3 separate regions of the Homo sapiens genome follow, and regions 1 and 3 are each linked to region 2. Evidence: promoter capture Hi-C in human tissues and cell types (Jung and others, 2019). All regions are on one chromosome and are shown on one strand. Each heading gives the region's core, a stretch centred on a gene start or on the middle of the fragment in contact. The rest is flanking DNA. Distances are from core to core; before and after follow the strand shown. Region 1 holds the start of SLC6A16 (solute carrier family 6 member 16). Region 2 holds the start of BAX (BCL2 associated X, apoptosis regulator). Region 3 holds the start of PTH2 (parathyroid hormone 2).

The links. Contacts are between HindIII fragments. The study calls those that stand out against the background at their distance.
Region 1: the fragment with the promoter of SLC6A16 here is called in contact with the fragment with the promoter of BAX in region 2 in 1 of the 25 tissues and cell types used here (liver).
Region 3: the fragment with the promoter of PTH2 here is called in contact with the fragment with the promoter of BAX in region 2 in 1 of the 25 tissues and cell types used here (spleen).

What each region holds. Positions count from the first base shown.
Region 1 is chr19:49,323,501-49,327,903 of GRCh38, reverse strand. It overlaps SLC6A16 (solute carrier family 6 member 16), which reads left to right and starts at 2,713. Exons shown (of 12, transcript NM_014037.3): 1 at 2,713-2,856. RefSeq lists a silencer at 455-606 and an enhancer at 1,400-1,549. The HindIII fragment of the contact is 19,669 bases long and covers 1-4,058 here.
Region 2 is chr19:48,951,736-48,956,235 of GRCh38, reverse strand. BAX (BCL2 associated X, apoptosis regulator) reads right to left here and starts at 1,361. Exons shown (of 6, transcript NM_138761.4): 1 at 1,274-1,361; 2 at 637-688; 3 at 403-549; 4 at 1-38. The coding sequence starts at 1,307. RefSeq lists enhancers at 887-1,096, 546-1,113, 1,114-1,682 and a silencer at 1,217-1,366. The HindIII fragment of the contact is 13,021 bases long and covers 1-4,500 here.
Region 3 is chr19:49,420,743-49,425,532 of GRCh38, reverse strand. PTH2 (parathyroid hormone 2) reads left to right here and starts at 2,092. Exons shown (of 2, transcript NM_178449.4): 1 at 2,092-2,321; 2 at 2,891-3,114. The coding sequence starts at 2,194. The coding sequence ends at 3,065. It overlaps GFY (golgi associated olfactory signaling regulator), which reads right to left and starts at 145. Exons shown (of 4, transcript NM_001195256.2): 1 at 44-145. RefSeq lists a silencer at 1,773-1,976. The HindIII fragment of the contact is 12,103 bases long and covers 1-4,790 here.

The DNA.
Region 1 (4,403 bases), core at 1,464-3,963, 370 kb before region 2:
GGGATCCATTCATATCAGACTCTTTGCCATTTCCAGAACCCATCAAGTGTACTTCTTGCCTCAAGGCTTTTGCTGTTGCCATTTTCTTTGCCTGGAATGTTCTTCCCTATGCTGTTCACAAGGCTCCCTTCCTTCAGCTCTCTGCTGAAATATCACTTTCCCCAAGAGTCCTTCTTGACTACCCTGTCTAAAGTAACTCCCTATCAGCACTCTTACTCTCTGAAATTCTTTCTATTTAGGCATTTACTTTCTTTGTGCAACTGGAACGTAAAATCTTTTTCATAACTATATCCCAGGGGTCTAGGACAGTGTGGGGCACATCATTCAATAAATATTTATTGACCGACTGAGACTTTTCCTGGTGCCTTGAACACACAGTTTGCCCTGCCTCAGGGCCTTTGCACAGCCTCAAGGCTTGAGATGTTCACACACATTTTTCACCTAGCAAATAATCCTTTAAGCCTCAACTCCAGTGTTATTTCCTTAGAGAAATCCTCCTTCTAAATTAGGTCTATGGGCCGGGCGCAGTGGCTCACGCCTGTAATCCCAGCACTTTGGGAGGCTGAGGCGGGCGGATCACCTGAGGTCAGGAGTTCAAGACCAGCCTGGCCAACATGGCAGGCTGACTCTACTAAACCCTGACTCTACTAAAAATATGAAAATTAACCAGGCGTAATGGCAGGCACCTGCAACCCCAGCTACTCGGAAGGCTGAGGCAGGGAGAATTGCTTGAACCCGGGAGGCAGAGGTTGCAGTGAGCCGAGATTATGCCACTGCACTTCAGCCTGGGTGACAAAGTGAGATTGTCTCAAAAAAAAAAAAAATTCGATAGAAATAAATAGGTCTGTGGCCCTTTTCTGTCGCAGCACTTTTTTTTTTTTCCTTGAGACAGGGTCTTACCCCATCACCCAGGCTGGAGTGTAGTAGTGTGATCTTGGCTTACTGCAACTTCTGCCTCATGGTTTTAAGTGATTCTTGTGCCTCAGCCACCCGAGTAGCTGGGATTACAGGCGTGCACCACCACACCTGGCTCGTTTTTGTATTTTTAGTAGAGATGGGGTTTCACCATGTTGGCCAGGCTGGTCTTGAACTCCTGGCCTCATGTGATCCGCCCACCTTGGCCTCCCAAAGTGCTGGGATTACAGGCGTGAGCCACCATGCCCGGCCTGTCATAGCACTTAATACAATTTATAATCATGTAATTATTTGAGATTCATCATATATCTGTTTTCTTGTTGTGTGAAGCAAAACGAGGGCAGGAATGGGGTCTGTTTTGTTCTCTACACTATTCCCAGTTCCTAGCATTTAGTAGACTCTCGATAAATACGTGTTGAAAGATTGAATGATTCCCAAAGATTGTGATGAATTCTTACAGCACCCCCAAAATTTCCTCTTCATCTCTTTGTTCAATCATAACAATTTAAGCCTTTCATTCTCAAAGTGTGGCTCAGGGACTCCTGGGGGCTCTTGAAACACTTTTGGGGGTCCATGAGGTGAACATTATTTTCATAATACTACTAAGATATTATTTGCCTTTCACTTTCATTTCCTCTTTGAATATAGTGATGTTTGCCAGAAGCTACAAGACATGAGCTATTTTGACACACTCAGTGCAGAAGCAGATATGAGAATCCAGCTGTCTTCTATGAAGCCAGACATTAGAGAGATTTGCAAAAATGTAAAATGATGCCATTCTTCTCCCCAAATTTTTTCTTTTTTTTCCTTTTTTTTTTTGAGACGGAGTCTTGCTCTGTTGTCTAGGCTGGAGTGCAGTGGCAAAATCTCGGCTCATTGCAACCTCTGCCTCCTGGGTTCCAACGATTCTCCTGCCTCAGGCTCCCGAGTAGCTGGGATTACAGGTGTGTGCCACCACGCCCGGCTAATTTTTTTTTTTTTTGACTTTTAGTAGAGACGGGGTTTCATCATGTTGGCCAAGCTAGTCTCGAACTCCTGACCTCGTGATCCACCCGCCTTGGCCTCCCAAAGTGCTGGGATTACAGGCGTCAGCCACCGCGCCCAGCGCCAAAATTTCTTTTGGAGTAGAAATTATAGTTATTTTAAATAAAAATGTTATTTTGACACATAATGAATTTTTAAACAATGACTATTTTAGAAATTTATTTTAATATTGATAGATACAACTCACATAAACATACAACCCATATAAATGTAACTCATAAATTATTGGAGTCCTTAATAATTCTTAAGAGACCGGAAAGTATGAGAACGGATGACCTAAGTAAATCTTTGAGTTTTTAATTCTTGTCTGCAGCCCTAGTAGGCTTCTGAGCTCTCTTAAGGCAACGTCCCTGTCTGCCTTGTTGGACGCATATTTAAGGTTTGGTTTCTAGTAGGCGATCTTTAAGTAAATGCGAAAGGTTTGAAGGCTAGAAGGAATGAATGAGACGATTCTCCCACTTCCTACCCTCTTCTTCCTTACATGAAGTGGAAGCAAAGTGCATGTGCCAGAGAAAGGCCTTGTCTTAGAGCCCCGCCTGAAGCGTGGCATCGTGGGTGTCGGGGTGGGGTGCGGTGGGGAAGGGAGTGGCGCGTGAGCAGTCAGAGGATGTGCACACGTGCGTGCGTGTGGGGAGAGAGCAGGGAGTTGGGGAGGGCGAAGTGGTTACAGTGTTTGCTACAGCTGTAGGGAAAGAGTGAGGGGGCGCGGCGGCGCATGCGCAGAGAATCGGCGGGAAAGGCCGCGCGCCAGGCAGATCGAGGGGTGTCGCCCAAACCGATCTGTCGACGCCTGAAGGGGCCTGAGGAGATTGCTAGGCTTCTCAGCTGGGGCTTCTTCACCCTCATTTTTGTCCGACTGGCTGGACTGAAGAACCTGGCAGAAGCCTTGGGGCTAGGGTGAGGGTCACGGCCCAGGGAGCCCTAAAATGTTCCCACATCTGGGGTGTGTGGGGCTGGGCGCCATTTTCGAGGCCCGGGCCCACTGGGCTCCACTGACGGGTGACAGGTGACTGGCTGGGAGCCTCCTGGTTGCCCTGGGCTCTGTGGAGCTGAGGGATCAAAGGGGTCCCTCCTTTACCCCCCACGTAGGACAGAGGAAACTGTCTTCGGCTCTCCTCACTCATCCAGTCCGAGTTTGAGCCAATTCCTTGACAGGATTCGGCCATCAGTCCCTGCCTTTGGGGAAAGCCATCAGTGTCAAGTGCCCGAGTGGCAGAAACCCGGGTCTAGCCCCATCACTGGTCTGTTAGGGCAGTTATTTTCTGCTTTTTGCAGAAATGGGACACCAGCTCCTTATTTTCCTTTTCTGGAGGTTATAGTTCCAGGGAAGGAGGTAATGTGAGGGGAATGGGCATTTCTGGGGGATCCTGAGCACTCCCCACAGGGCATGAGCCTAGGAGTTGCTTGGGATGACGGTGTAGGGGCACCATGGAGGGTTGCACCCATATGGGAAGAGGAGTCCGCCTGGGGCTCAAGGGGCTTTATGGATGTTGGAAGTGGCCAGCTGGCCAAAACTCAGTTCTCTCCCTTCCGTAAAGCTTGCTTTTAAGGACAACTGTTCTAGAATGTGTTTAAGAAACATGAATCTATTATTTTTTATTTATTTATTTATTTGAGATGGAGTCCCACTCTGTCACCCAGGCTGGAGTGCAGTGGCACGATCTCAGCTCACTGCAACCTCTGCTTCCCAGGTTCAAGCGATTCTCCTGCCTCAGCCTCCCAAGTAGCTGGGACTATAGGCGTGCGCCACCACCCCCAGCTAATTTTTTGTATTTTTAGTAGAAACGGGGTTTCACTGTGTTGGCCTGGCTGGTCTCGAGCTCCTGACCTCAGCCGATCCACCCGCCTCAGCTTCCTAAAGTGCTGAGATTACAGGTGTGAACCCCCGTGCCCAGCCTATTATTATTATTTTTAAGAGACAGGGTCTCTCTCTGTCTCCCAGGCTGGAGTCCAGTGGCATGATCACCTCTCACTACAGCCTCGAACTTCTGGGCTCAAGCAATCCTTCCACCTCAGCCTTTCAAAGAGCTGGGATTACAGGCTGAGCCACTGGAGGCTTGGTTTTCACTTATTTTGGGTGTATACCCAGAAGTGGAATTGCTGGATCATATGGTAATTCTATTTTTAAGTTTTTGAGGAACCACCATAGTGTTTTCCATGGTGGTTGCACCATTTTACATTCTGACCAGCAAGGCACAAGGATTCCAATTTCTCCACATCCTCACCAACACTTCTTATTTTCTGCCTTTTTATATTAGCCATCCTAATGGATGCGAGGTATTATCTCATTGTAGTTTTCATTTGCATTTCCTTAATGATTAGTGACGTTGAACATCTTTTCATGTACTTCTTGGAGATTGGTATATCTTCCTTGGAGAAATGTCTATTTAAGTCTTTTGCCCATTTTTGAATTGTGTTGTTTGTTTCTTTGTTGTTGAGTTTTA
Region 2 (4,500 bases), core at 112-2,611:
CCTCTCGGGGGGAGTCTGTGTCCACGGCGGCAATCATCCTGCAGGAGAGAGGAGAACCAGTGCCGGGGAGCAGGCATCAGGCTGATGGTGGAAAATTCCCGCATCCACCGCACACTAAAGATAAGGAGACTGAGCCCCAAGCCAGGCTGAAATGAAAAGCAACAGGCCAACGGGGGACAAGGGAAGGGGACAAGACAGACATTTAGGAAGGTGGGAAAAATGACTCCCTGAAGGAGGGTTTTAAGATCCTGGCAGAGAGGAGGGCTGGGAGTCCGGAATGTTTGCGCTGAGTTGTGGGGCCCAGACTCCTAGTTCTTAGGGGAGGAGGAGAATGCGGGGCTGAGAGTCCTGTGTCCTGAAGGAGCCCAGTGGCTGGACTTCTGGGTCCTCAGGGGCCCACACCTCTGCAGCTCCATGTTACTGTCCAGTTCGTCCCCGATGCGCTTGAGACACTCGCTCAGCTTCTTGGTGGACGCATCCTGAGGCACCGGGTCCAGGGCCAGCTCGGGTGCCTCCCCCCCCATTCGCCCTGCTCGATCCTGGATGAAACTAGAGTGGGGATGGAGTGAGGGTGCAGAATCAGAACGGGGTGTCACTCCTCAAATCTGTGCCACAATAATCAGACCTCAAACTCACCCCTGAAGCAAAAGGGCCCCTGTCTTCATGATCTGCTCAGAGCTGGTGGGCCCTAGAGGAGAAAGGAAGGGAAGAGGTACCTGGACTCTTGGGTTCTAGGGGATCAGGAGACTGTGGAGACTCACGGCCCCTGAGGGAGGACAGAGCTGGGGACCCTGGACTTCTGGGACCCTAGCAGATAAAGTGACGGGGGGGCCCAGACAACTGAGTCCCTGATGGAGAAAGGCCAGGAGGCTGGGCCTGTATCCTACATTCTCCCCGGGGAAAGAGGCTAGGGGAACGCTATATGCATCCAGACCCCTGGCCTGAGGGGGCAGAGGCGAGACCCGCCCCTCCCACCAGTGCCAGAGGCAGGAAGTGGTGCGGGCGACAAGCCCGGGCCTGCCCGGGGGCTTGGCTTCCGAGATCCCCTGGTTCTCGAGGGTCCGAGAGCGCCAGAGAGGCAGGGATCGGGACACGGGGATCAGAGAGCCAGGAACCTCCGAGGACGGAGGGGACTGGAGGCTGGCAGCGCCCGATCCGGGAGTTTCTGCCCCTCAGTGCTTGGAGATCGCACAGCCCCAGGCCGGTAGGAAGGATCCCGGACGGGCCGGCGAGGGGGCTCGCCCTCCTCCCGCCCGTCTGCCTCCCGCCTCACCCCCGCCTCTGGGCTGCTCCCCGGACCCGTCCATCACCGCCGCTCCCGCCGCCGCCTCTCGCCGGGTCCGCGCGGGCGGCCGCAGCGCGCCCGGGTCACGTGAGAGCCCCGCTGAACGTGCGTCCTTCACGTGGCCGCCCCGCAAAATGGCCGCTGCCCCGCAGCGCCGCCGGGTCACGTGACCGCACCTGCCTCGCTCCCTCGGGAGGTTTGGTCCCGTCACGTGACTGTCCAATGAGCATCTCCCGATAAGTGCCAGCAGTGGCGCCGTCCAACAGCCGTCCGTCCAATCGCAGCTCTAATGCCTTCATTTATCCAGGCACCATTTTTAGAAGTTTCGGGCAGGGTTTGAGCTCTCCCCAGCGCAGAAGGAATTAGCAAGTGCAAAAGCTCAGAGGCCCAAAATAGCATGCTTCCAGGCAGGACGTTATAGATGACTAAAAACTGAGTGGTTTTGTTTTTTGCAGAGACCTGGATCTAGCAATATAGCCCACGCCCAGGCTTGTCTCTAACTTGTGAGCCCAAGAGATAACCCCGTCTCAGCCTTCCAAAGCGCTGGGATTACAGGCATGAGCTACCGCGCCAGGCCTGCTTTTCTGTTTGTTTGTTTTTTCCTGTTTTTTTTTTTTTTTTTTTTGAGACAGGGTCTCACTGTGTTGCCCAGGCTGGAGTGCAGTGGCCCAATCATGGCTCACTGCAGTCTGGAATTCCCGGGCTGAAGCCTCCCACCTCAGCCTCCTGAGTAGCTGGGACTACACCGCCCCTGGTTAATTTTTAAAACTTTTTATGTGGAGATGAGGTCTCTCTATGTTGCCCAGGCTGGTCTCTGAACTCCCAGACTCAAGCGATCCTCGCACCTTGGCCTCCCAAAGTGCTGAGATTACAGGCTTGAGCCACCCCACCCAGTCATGACTCGAATGTTTGTGTTTGTGTAAAAAGAAAAGGAATATGAAGTTTAAAAAGTGGCAGAAACTAATCTGTGCTGATAGATCAGCAGGGTATGGAGGGGAGGGGCCACAAGAGACACTCCCCGGGTGCCCCAAATATGCCATATTTTTATCTGAATGGTGTTTACATGGGTATACACATTATTATTATTATTATTATTATTATTATTATTATTATTTTGAGACGGAGTTTTGCTCTTGTTGCCCAGGATGGAGTGCAATGGCACGATCTCGGCTTACTGCAACCTCTGCCTCCGGGTTCAAGCAATTCTCCTGCCTCAGCCTCCCAAGTAGCTGGAATTGCAGGCATGCGACACCACGCCCAGCTAATTTTGTATTTTTAGTAAAGATGGGGTTTCACTATGTTGGTCAGGCTGGTCTCAAGCTCCTGACCTCAAGTGATCCACCTGCCTCGGCCTCCCAAAGTGCTGGGATTACAGGCGTGAGCCACTGTGCCCGGCCGGGTATACACATATTTACAATTCATTGAGCTGTACACATAAGACTTGTGTGCTTTATGAATATTATGACATGTCACTTTAGACAGAAAATAATAGCAACTAAGGAAAACTCAGAAAAATGAGCTAGGATCAGATGATAAAGGGTTTGGGCCTGTCAGAGAAGGGACTTGATCTATGTCCAGAAGGCCGCTGGGAAGCATGGGGAAATTTTGAGCAGGCAAAGGGCAGAGTCAGACTAGGGTGTCAGGAAGATCTCTTGGACTTCCTTCTTTCTCGAAAAAGCTCCTGGTTGGGCTCAGTGGCTCACTTCTGTAATCCCAGCACTTTGGGAGGCCGAGATGGGTAGATCACCTGAGGTCAGGAGTTTGAGACCAGCCTGGCCAACACGGTGAAACCCTATCCCTACTAAAAATTCTAAATTAGCCAGGTGTGGTGGCAGGCACCTGTAGTCCCAGCTACTCGGGAGCTGAGGCAGGGGAATCGTTTGAATCTGGAGGCAGAGGTTGCAGTGAGCTGAGATCGTGACCTTGCACTCCAGCCTCAGTAACAAGAGGGAAACTCCAACTCAAAAAAAAAAAAAAAAAAAAAAAAAGCTCGCATAGCACCCAGGATGTGTAATGCTTCTCACAGCTGTAAATGTGTGCAGTGTTTTAATTTCATGTTGGTTTTTTTCATCCACCCAAAATTTCCACAAGGTTAATTTGTCCTCAATTCTCCCAGAAACCAGCATGTTACTTGATTCATAGTTATCTCTCAAAATGTGTTATTCAATAACTGTATGATTGAATGTTGGGGAGCATGCAGAAATCAGACATTGTCTGCCTCTGACATTCAGAGAAGACTTCTCAGAGGAGGTATTTCCTCTTGACCTTGAAGGATCAGTTTGTTTTGAAAATTGAAGAAAGGGGCCAGGTGTGATGGCTCATTCCTATAGTCCCAGCACTTTGGGAGGCCAAGGCAGGAGGATCACCTGAAGCCAGGAGTTCAGGACCAGCCTGGGCTGTACCATGGTGAGACCCTGTGTCAACTAAAAAACAAAAGAAAGGAGGGGGGGCCGGGCGTGGTAGCTCACACCTGTAATACCAGCTGTGTGGGAGGCCGAAGTGGGTGTATCATCTGAGGTCAGGAGTTTGTGACCAGCCTAGCCAACATGGCGAAACCCCGTCTCCACTAAAAATACAAAAAAATTAGCTGGGAGTGGTGGCGCGTGCCTGCAGTCCCAGCTGCTTGGGAGGCTGAGGCAGGAGAATCGCTTGAACCCAAGAGGCAGAGGTTGCAGTGAGCCAAGATCGTGCCACTGCACCCCAGCCTGGGCAACAGAGCAAGCCTCTATCTAAAAAAAAACAAAAAGAAAAGGAAGCAGAAAAAAAAGAAAATTAGCTGGATGTGGTGGTGCGTGCCTGTAGTCCCAGCTACTTGGGAGGCTGAGGTGGGAAGATTGTTTGAGCTTGGGAGGTCCCGGCTGCCGTGAGCTGTGATCAATTGCATCACTGCAATCAGACTGGGTGACAGAGGAAGAGCCTGTCTCAAAAAGAAAAAAGAAAAGAAAAAGCCAAGATAAAGGGGGAGGGTAGAGCTTAGGTGACAACCAAATGATAGCTTAGAGCAAAGCAAGGTCAACATTGGATCAGGACTGTGAAGTGAAACCAGTGTCCTGAATCGCTGGAAACAAGAAGGTACATGTGAAATGTTGCATCCAGAAACCCTTTATCTGAAGCTGTGCACCTGCTTTGGAAATCAAGGCTGCTACTCTGTATCAAGTGGATTAGATCCTGTCAGCAAGACTCGGATGTTTCATTTTTACTGATAGAATTTCCAA
Region 3 (4,790 bases), core at 843-3,342, 470 kb before region 2:
ACATCGATGGGACAGGCTTACTTGAGGTCCTGGGGTCTCTTACCTGCTCTGGTGTCCAAGGTAACAGCAGATAAGCAGAGCTGGATGCAGAGAACGGTGAATGTTGCAGAACAGATCTGGGCAGGGCGGTGGGAGGTAGGGTCTCAGGGGCACACAGGTGACGCACCTCACCCCCTCCCAGGGGATCCTGGGAGCCTAGCGACAGACTTAGACTCTTAAAGGGACAGAAGTAAAGGACATTTTCTCTGGGGTGGGGAAGGGAGTTAGAAACTGGATTGATCTAGTGGAGATGTGGCCCAAATTATTTTTTTGAAACCAGTGGTCCTGGCCCTCTACCCTCTCCTACCTGAAAACCCAGGGGTCTAGTTCCCTGGTACCTTCCTATTTCAAGTCCCCTAAGTTGTATCCCCCAGCTCCCTCCCCCCAGACTCAGAACTCCAGTCCTCTAGCTCCTTCCTTCCTCAGATTCAGGAATCCAAGTCCCCAGCCTCCTCCTTCCCCAGAACATAGGAATCTGGGTCCCTGTCCCATCCACTCTTAGACTCAGGAGTCCAAGCTTCTGCCACCACCTTCCTAGGAAACTAGGAGCCCAAGTTCCCACATCCCAAGTTTCTACTGCTCTGTAGGACTTCCAAGTTTTGCCCATCTTCTCCTCACTGTGTATAAAGGCCCCTCTTTTTAAATTTTTTTTTTTTTTTGAGACAGAGTCTCACTCTGTTGCCCAGGCTGGAGTGCAGTGGTGCGATCTCAGCTCACTGCAACCTCCCTCTCCCAGGTTCAAGCGATTTTCCTGCCTCAGCCTCCCAAGTAGCTGGGATTACACCACACCTAATTTATGTATTTTTGTAGAGAAGGAGTTTCGCCATGTTGGCCAGTCTGGTCTCGAACTCCTGACCTCAAGTGATCCACCCACCACGGCCTTCCAAAGTGCTGGGATTACAGGCATGAGCCACAGCACCCGGCTGAGGCCCCTCTTAAGAGTCAGTGTGGACTGGGTGTGCTGGCTCACGCCTGTAATCCCAACACTCTGGGAGGCCAAGGAGGGCAGATCACAAGGTCAGGAGTTCAAGACCAGCCTGGCCAACAGTTTGGCGAAACCCTATCTCTACTAAAAATACAAAAATTAGCTGGGCGTGATGGTGGGCACCTGTAATCCCAGCTACTCGGGAGGCTGAGGCAGGACAATGGCTTGAACCTGGGAGGTGGAGGTTGCAGTGAGCCGAGATAGTGCCATTGCACTCCAGCCTGGGCAACAAGAGCAAGACTCCATCTCAAACAGACAAACACACACACACAAAAAGAGTCAGTGTGAGGAGGACTGGGCTTTAATCTTCACAGCACCCCCAAACTCCTCCCAGATAAGGGCTTAGACACATCCTTAGGGCAGCTCAGGAGCCCTGTCTGTTTTCCCCTCTTCTCACTCTCTGAGGTTTTTCTGATGTGGTCTGTCACTTTTCCTGTCCTCACACCCCTGCCACACGTACCCTTTGCCATTTCTTGCCTTTCCCCCCTCCCTACCTCACCCTCGATCTTTCTGGGCCTCTCGCTGCTGTATTTATCTCTGGGCAGCTCCTTCCAGACCAGGACGTCCTTCCATTTCCGTCTGTCTTTCTGAGAGCCTTTTCTTTCCCTCCTCCATCTCCATCTGACTGTTCGTTTCCATCTCCTTCGCTCTCTTTTCTTGTTTTCTTCCTTTTCCTTTCTTTTTCTGTCGTTCCCATTCTTTCTCTCTATTTCTTCCTCGGCCACTCTGTCTTTGTCCTTCTCTTTGTGTCTCTGTTCCTCTGACGGTCCTTCCGCCAGTCTCTATTTTTAGCCCTCTGACACACCCCCTGTGTCCACCTCTCTGTCTGTCTGTCTCTCCCCCTCCCTCGTCTCAGGTCCAGCTTCTGGTCCCAATTAGTTGGTGGCGGCCAAGGCAGCGGCAGGTCCCCCACCCCCGGCTCCTCATTACCGCTGGCGGCTCCTAATGAGCCTGGGGAGGGGGTGACCCCGCGTCCCCGGCCCCCCGGCCTGCGTCACTGCCCGGTGCGGGGGCTGCGGAGGCGATATAAGGGGGCTGCCACCATCGCTGCCCCAGCCCACTGCACGGTAGGGGACTGTGCGGGAAGCTGGGGGTGGATGCATGGTGGGGCCCGGGGTTCTGGGCCGGGATGCAGCCCTACTGAGCCCCTTTCTGGTTCTCCACAGGTGATGGAGACCCGCCAGGTGTCCAGGAGCCCTCGGGTTCGGCTGCTGCTGCTGCTGCTGCTGCTGCTGGTGGTGCCCTGGGGCGTCCGCACTGCCTCGGGAGTCGCCCTGCCCCCGGTCGGGGTCCTCAGGTAGGTGCCAGTCCCAGAACTCCCAGGGAGGGGTGGGAACTTGGAGAAGTGGGAAGAGAACCAAAGAGAAAGGGGACGGAAGATCCAGAAAGCGGAACAGAAGCCCAAAGAGAGGGCGACCGAGACCCAGCGAGAAGACAGAGACTAGGGGTGGGGGAAGGCGGGAGGAGGGTTTGGTGGTAGTGGTGGTGCGGGAAATGGACAGAAAATCAGCAAGGGAAAGAGACACAGAAAGATAGATCCCGAGAAAGGCGTGGAGAGGCTCGAAAGGAGTCGTTGCAGAAACGGATTCATTCTTTGAGCAACGTTTATTGGGTTCTTGGTGTGCGCCTGGCCATGCGCTGAGCGCTGTGGGCGGACAAGTGCATCAGACTCGGTCTCAGTACCTGGGGAGTTTCGAACCTGGTGAGCAGAGAGACAGAGACCCACACAGAGAACGAGAGAGACAGGGGGAGCCGGACCGAGCCACTCCACGGACTGGGCAGTAACGGGGCTTCGAGTTAGACCGCGGGGAGGACAGGCGGCGGCAAGAGCGAGTCTGGACGCGCGGTCACCGCGTCTCTCCACAGCCTCCGCCCCCCAGGACGGGCCTGGGCGGATCCCGCCACCCCCAGGCCGCGGAGGAGCCTGGCGCTGGCGGACGACGCGGCCTTCCGGGAGCGCGCGCGGTTGCTGGCCGCCCTCGAGCGCCGCCACTGGCTGAACTCGTACATGCACAAGCTGCTGGTGTTGGATGCGCCCTGAGCGCGCTGCCCGTCCCCATCTTAATAAAGACCATGCCCTGCGCTCCGGACTGCGCCTAGTTCCTGCGCGACCTGCGTGTGCGTTGGGTTGGGGGCGCGGGGCTTGAAATGGGGGGTAGAAAAGAGACAGGACTCTGTGTCGGCCACTCTGGCATCTCTCTCCTCAGTCCCCACTCTATTTTCTTTCCTCAATTCCGTTTCTCTCTGCCTGTCTTTGTCCAGGAAGCTGGCTTCTTTCCTATTTCTGGATCTCTGCTTCCCTATCGCCCCCACCCCCCCGCCCCCTCCTTTCATTCTGGGCCCCTGTCCCTCCCTACCCCCATCTCTGTCCCCTTCTCTCTGGTTCTCTGTAATCTCCAAGGTCTCTGTCCTCCTCCGTCTCTGTCCCTTTCTCTGGGTCTCTTTCCTCTCTGGGTATGTGTCCCCGTCTCCCTGGGTCCTTGTGGTTATCTCCCCTTTCACCCTTTTGGCTTTCTGGTCTTCTGGGAATCTCTGCCTCCTCTCTCTATTCTCCTTCTGCCTCTGAAACTCTTCCTTCCCTTCTCCATCACTTTCTTTTTTCCTTTTTCCTCTGCCTGACTCCTTCATATCTTCCTTTTCTTTCCTCCGTTAGGTTTCTATCTGTCTCTCCATCAGCTCTCATCTTTGAATTTCGCTGTTCCTCCCTCCCATCACTTCCAGACTTCTCCCCAGGCACAGTGGAAAGATCGCGGGCTCTGGTGTGAGGCAGCCCTAGCATCCAAACCCAGGGTCCTCCAAATCTAGCTGCGTAGTACTGAGAAAGCCTTCTTGACGTCAGTCTCTGTGTCTCCTTTTCTTCATCTGTTACGAGGATCCAATAAGATATACTTCATAAGACTTCAGTACAGCGCCCGTTACGTAGCAAAACGCTTTTATTTGAAAAGGGTTTCCTCTTCTCACAGCAGCGTCCAGCAATTTTTTTCAGGGTTTTCTGACTTCGGGTCTCCTTCTCTAGAGACCTTCGGGGCGCCAGGCTGGGGCAGGAGAAGAGAAAGGAGCAGGCGTCAGGCTCCAAAAAGGACAGGGAAAGGGCGGGAAGATACCTGGGCTGCAGGTGAAGCGAGAAAAGAGCCAATCGAAATCTGTCTCTCTCCCCGGAGGTCCAGCCTGCCCTTCAGCTCCGCCCCTCGTGGTAACCATGGCAACCCGGTGGTCCGCAGAGGGCTAGATCAGCGCGCCTGGGGCGCCGTTCGTGCGGACCGCGCTCTCATTGGTTTAAAGAAGAGAGTGGAGCCGGCCGCGTCTGCTGCGCGGGAAGCGGGGCCGCCGCGCGTGTTTGGCAAGGCGTCCCAAAATTTGCATTTTCGGGAGGCGGACCGAGCCCTAATTGGCCCTTGGACTGTGGGGGCGGGACTGTTTCCTCTGTCCTTCCGAATAACAAAGGAAAGACTGCATTCCTCAAAACTATCTGGAGTTGGCCTAATTTTACAAATAAGACTGAAAGTCAGGAGGAATTTTCCTAAGTTGTTAGAGCTACTAAGCGACAAAAGAATAACTGGAATCCGGGTATGTGCAATTTCAAAAGTCTAGACTTTTCCGCCACTCTCATGGAGAAATGGAATGAAAATGTGAATGAGCAGTTGCTATATAGCAGGCACTCTTCTAAGTGCTGTGCTTGCATTAACTCTTTTAACCTCACAAAGACCCTATGAAGAGCCTCCTCCTGTTTCCCCGCGGGCCTGGTAGCTGGGTACTGGCCTGGTCT